Linked DNA regions of Homo sapiens: region 1 is linked to region 2. The links are contacts of gene promoters, found by promoter capture Hi-C in blood cells and fetal thymus (Javierre and others, 2016). All regions are on one chromosome and are shown on one strand. The core of a region is centred on a gene start or on the middle of the fragment in contact, and the rest is flanking DNA. Distances in the headings are between cores, read along the strand shown. Region 1 holds the start of ARHGAP19 (Rho GTPase activating protein 19). Region 2 holds the start of R3HCC1L (R3H domain and coiled-coil containing 1 like).

Region 1 (2,700 bases), core at 173-2,672, 840 kb after region 2:
GCCAAAAAAGTGGAAAAATGGACGAGCCAGAAAAAGCAACATGTGCAAAAGCCCTAAGACAGTTCAGAAAGTGAAGCATGTGCAGTACAGTTTAGTAAAAAGGAGGCAGAGTGCAGGGAGAGCCCCAGGTGGCAGGATATCAGAAGGATCAATACAGAAATTCCCGAGAAAAGTCCAGCATAGGAAAACAATATGGAAAAACAAAAAACAACAATGCTCAAAATTTACAATGTTCTCACATATGTTGCCTCAGTTAATCCCTAGGAGAAGTGTGTGCCGCAGGGAGGACAAGGATAATTATGGTTATTCCTACCATTGAGGATTAAAGTTTAGTTTGGGACAAAGTCATGCAGCTTTTGGTTCCATGGTTCATATCACAAGGCAAACTCTGTGGGTTCTCTGGGAAGTTGGAAGGGAGTGAATGTATTGAAGCAGAAATGACCGACTCCAGCCTGGCCAACAGGGTGAAACCCCATCTCTACAAAAAGTACAAAAATTTGCCCTGTGTGTTGGTATGCTGCAATATTGTACTGTGCTCCAGCATGGGAGACAGAGGGAGACCTTATCTCAAAAAAAAAAAAAAAAGAAAGAAATAAAGGAAGAAAGAAATGACCTATGGCTAGGGCTATGCTGAGTATCTGAAGAAAGAAGGCTTTGAACTATACGTTTAAAAGCAAGTACTTCTAGGTTGCCACTCCCTGCCTGCACTTGAGGGATTTATCTCTGGGTCAAGACAGAGAACGAGTCTTGCATTAAATTACATTAAATTAAATGAATTAATTTATGGCTGGGTGCAGTGCCTCATGCCTGTAATCCCAGCACTTTGGGAGGCTGACATAGGAGGATTGCTTGAGCTCAGGGGTTCGAGACCAGCCTGGGCAACATGGTGAAACCCTGTCTCAACAGAAAAAAAAAATTAAAAAAATTGTAAAAAAAAATTATTTATTTTCAACTTTTATTTTAAATTTAGGGGGTACATGAGTTGGTTTGTTATCTGGGTATATTGTGTGATGCTGAGATATAGGGTACGGAGTCTTGCATTTTAGAAAGTGATGAGTCACTTTCAAAGTTGACAGTTCTATAATTCCCTGATTTACATATCAGGACAAAATTTGAGCATAGGCTGGTGATTTCTGACTTGAACCTAAAGGTCTGTGGAATCGGAAGGGTTCATCAAAATGAGAAACTACAACTCCCGGCAGGCCTCGGGGCTGGGTCTTCTTCCCCGCCCCTCCCTCTTTTTCCGCCAGGGCTGGGAACGACCAATGACGGTTAGTCATTTGAATAGACCAATAATATATTAAACGGTTCAGGTTGAGGAGGGGCGGTCGAGTCATCCAATCGCACGGAAGAGGTGAAAACATATTAGCCAATCCAAATATGTGGGGGCGGGACGTAAGGTGGGGCGGTGAAAGAAGTTTGCTGACGAAGATGGCGACTGAGGCACAGAGTGAAGGGGAGGTGCCAGCCCGCGAATCCGGCCGGAGGTGAGCTGAGTTTGGTCCAGTTTCCTGGGAAACGCGGCCTTGGGCTGGTAGTCCTGCCGCCTTTGCCTTGGGTCACGGAGGCGCACGGTTCGGGCTTTGTTTCTTTCTCCCACGGCGTTTCTCATCGTCGCGCCTGCGGGGGCTGAGGCGCGGGGGTCGGGCCTGGGCGCTGGACTCCAGCCAAACCCCCCGCTCGGTCCTGCCGGTGCCCGAGGGGGCTCCTCCCGCTGCGCTGGCTGCAGACGTCCAGCTGGGGGTGGCAGCGCTGATCGCTTTGGCGCCGAGACACCTCTTGATGGCGAGGAAACGGAAGTCCAGGGCTGGTTAGCGAATTCCTCACTGTTGCACACAGCGCTTCACATCTTCTCCGAGGCACTTTGTGCGTTCAGGTCCGAGCAAGGATTTGAGTGTCAATTAGAAACAGTGTTGAGTCCTTGGGCCAGTTTTTAAACCTCTCTCGACTTCAGTTTCTTCATCTGCAAAGGGACGTGAGGATGCCTATTTCCAAGTGTCAAGATTGAATAAGACAATCCATTTAAAGCTAGCACTGAGTTTAGCCGATAATGACAACTCTACGCAATAGATTTTCTTCTTCCTAGTAGAACAGCTAAGGAGCAGATGGGAGAGGGATCTGTAGTCCAGGACATCATGACTTTATTTCCACAGGATGTTCTTTCCTAAACAGCCACACCGAGATTTAGCGTTTTCAGGAGAGAATTTCGAGGTGGTGTTGCCTTAGCCTTGAGACCTAAGTTGTCTTAATTGATTACAATTTTGTTTTTGGTGTAATTCAATAGATTGAGTTTATTTACGTTGCCTCAGTGTAACTCAGTAAAATACTTCGGTTTGGCGTCTTTTGGTTCCATTTGTACCGAATAAGAGATTCCAAGAATCTTGGGAAACTAATAACTTTGTGACTCGGCTTCTTCCTGAGCCCAGATGAGCGTGGTTGAGTGTGTTATTTAAAATATCATACGGGGCCGGGCATGGTGGCTTACGCCTGTAATCCCAGCACTTTGGGAAGCCGAGGGGAGCGGATCACCTGAGATCAGGAGTTCGAGACCAGCCTGGCGAACATGATGAAAGCCCGTCTCTACTAAAAATACAATAATTAGCCGGGTGTGGTGGCGGGCGCCTGTAGTCCCAGCTACTCAGGAGGTTGAGGCGGAGGTTGCAGTGAGCCCAGATGCGCCATTGCATTCCACCCTGGGTG
Region 2 (2,700 bases), core at 47-2,546:
AAAGCTTAATGTCAAAAAAAATTAAACAGATGGGATATTTGGCTATTTATATTCTGAATTTCAACTGTGACACAAGACACAAGACCTGCTGGGGACAGGTATTAGTTGTAGTACAACCATATCTGAGGAACGTTTACTGCTTTATGCTTGTACCTGTGTGATACTGAAGGAAGGTTATAACAGCAAGAGATAGTTGTGTGTGCTGAGGAAGAAGAGTCTAAATTCTGGTGGGCCTTAAAATCCAGATGAAGTTTTAAATTGACTCCACAGGTGGTAACGCCCTAAGGTCACCTCTTCACTAGGAACCTGGCATAAAAACATCTGTATGGTTCAGATTCGTTTCCAAAGACACTTTCCCCCTATTTATTAACTAATTTGATCTTCGTATAGACATGAACCTGGTTTTAAAACTCAACTGACCTAGACTGGAGACTGGGGGATGGCAAGGTTATACCCGAAACATACTTTAGAGTTCAAAGCTTTCGCAGGAATATCACTTCTGCTGAAGCCCACAACCCTGGAAGGCCGCAGGGCAAAGAACATTAACCCCACTTTTCAGACAACGAAACCGAGGCTGCGCTAAACAGACTACTGTACAAAAGATCACAGGTCCAGCCAAGTGGCGGACTGAGACTTCCCCCAGGATATCAGACTCCAAATCCTGTGCTCCTTCCCGTACACAACTGAGAGGGGGCTGCACTCACAAACTTTAAAGATCGGACTTGGGGTTTTTCGCAGGCCTGCCAAGAAAAAGCAGGAAGTACATGCTCCTTTATAGATTGCTCACTCCCAGCCCGTAGCCCGGGGCTCCCGGGCAGCGGAGGAGGCTCAAAGGCGAGGCTCGAAGCGAAGCCCGGAAACCGCCGGCAGCCCTGGGGGCCCACGGCCCCGCAGCCCCGAGGGGGTAACCAGGGACCCCGCTCAATACCTGTTGAAACCCAGAAAAAGCACGTCCTTTCCGCCAGGATCATTTGGGGCGAGCGCCCAAAGCGAGCACGAGCCCCAGTGAGTGCAAAAGAGCCCCGGGAGGGTCCCTCTCAACCGCGGGCCCGCAGGGGTCAGAAGGCGGGAGCTTCCCAGTAACCTCCGCCCCAGGCAGGGGGCGGCCCCTCGCGTCACATGAGGAAAAAAAATACCAGCAACAAACGACGGAATGGAAGTCTTGTCCCGGGCTGTGAAGGGAGAAGTGGGGATTAAAAATCCTAGCTTGAGGTACAGAGGGAGGGGATACGGGGCTGGTTGTTACCGGCGCGCTGTTGCTCTCCGCTTCCGCCGTCTCCGCGAAGCTCTATCTCTTCCGCTCGCGCCGCTGGGGCGCGCGTCAGGCCTCGGCTCCGCCCCCAACGCCGTGGGGCCTTCTGGGGGTTGTAGTTTCCGCGAGGCCCGGCCGCGCCCACTGAGTTCAGGTCACGTAGGGGAGAAGCTGGCAAAATGGCGAGTGCCGGAGAGCATTTCTGCTCCTGTCCCTTCAACCCTTCCTCATTCCTCTCGGCTATATACGTGCGCAAATCTCCTTACATTCCACTCAATTATACCATCTCACTTCCTCCGTTCACAGCCAAGTTTTTTGAAAAAGATAATCTACACTGTCTCTACTTGCTCATCTGTGTTCACTCCTCATCGCAGCTTCCGCCCCCATGGAAAATGCCTTGTTGTCATAAGTGTCCTTGTTGCCAAACTCATTGGAGGTATTTCCGGACTCATCTAACTCAAGCTTTAGTCATTTGACGCTATTGGGCATTATCACTTATTTTCTATGACACTATCCAGGTTTTCCTTCTCTGAATTCATTCTACTTTGTTTCCTCTAACTTACCTCTAAAATATTGGTGTTTTCCAGAGTTCTTAAAATTGGGGTGGGAGAGGGGACACTCCAGTCCCTTCTCACCTGAGCTCATTGTTTGTATTCCCAACTTCCTAGACAAGACCTCTCCTCATCCATGCCCACAGGCATCTCCAGTGTCCTTGAAAAGTGAACTACTGGGGCCAGGAACAGTGGCTCATGCCTGTAATCCCAGCACTTTGGGAGGCCAAGGCAGGTGGATCACCTGCGGTCAGGAGTTCGAGACCAGCCTGACCAACATGGTGAAACCCTGTCTCTACTAAAAGTACAGAAATTAGCTGTGCGTGGTGGTGGGCACCTGTAATCCCAGCTACCCAGGAGGCCGAGGCAGGAGAATTGCTTGAAGGAGAATCGCTTGAACCCGGGAGGCGGAGGTTGCAGTAAGCCAAAATTGCACCACTGCACTCCAGCCTGGGCAACACAGGGAGACTCCGTCCCCCAAAAAAAGAAAAGTAAACTACTACCCCTCCTCCCTACTCATTAATATTCACTCTTTAACCTGATTCCTCCTTTCTCACTTCCTCTTCCTCCAATATTCAAATGGTCACCAAATCTTGGAGATTCTATTGTAGCAGGACGAGCCGCAGACAAAACCTCTCAGACACCAAGTTGTAGAACGAAGGGCTTTATTCAGCTGGGAGCATCGGCAAGCTACTGTCCTAAAATCCAAGCTCCCCGAGTGCACAATTTCTGTCCCTTTTAAGGGCTCACCACACTAAAGATTTCACATGAAAGGGTCGTGATTGATTGAGCAATCTGGGGTGTATGTGACAGGGGCTTCATGCAGTGGTAGTCAGAGTGAAACAGAACAGAGTACAATGTTCTTCCATACAATGCCTGGAATCTATGCTAAGTCAT

Evidence for each region. The method cuts DNA at HindIII sites, captures the fragments that hold promoters and counts their contacts. A CHiCAGO score of 5 or more calls a contact.
Region 1: the fragment with the promoter of ARHGAP19 here is called in contact with the fragment with the promoter of R3HCC1L in region 2 in 2 of 17 cell types (fetal thymus and activated CD4 T cells); the score reaches 7.1 in fetal thymus.

Annotation. Positions count from the first base shown.
Region 1 is chr10:97,291,359-97,294,058 of GRCh38, reverse strand. ARHGAP19 (Rho GTPase activating protein 19) reads left to right here and starts at 1,422. Exons shown (of 12, transcript NM_032900.6): 1 at 1,422-1,487. The coding sequence starts at 1,432. ARHGAP19-SLIT1 (ARHGAP19-SLIT1 readthrough (NMD candidate)) reads left to right here and starts at 1,386. Exons shown (of 15, transcript NR_037909.1): 1 at 1,386-1,487. RefSeq lists a silencer at 1,701-1,750 and enhancers at 1,095-1,851, 1,852-2,610. The HindIII fragment of the contact is 8,887 bases long and covers 1-2,700 here.
Region 2 is chr10:98,133,253-98,135,952 of GRCh38, reverse strand. R3HCC1L (R3H domain and coiled-coil containing 1 like) reads right to left here and starts at 1,296. Exons shown (of 10, transcript NM_001351015.2): 1 at 1,247-1,296. RefSeq lists enhancers at 598-737, 80-869. The HindIII fragment of the contact is 1,235 bases long and covers 482-1,716 here.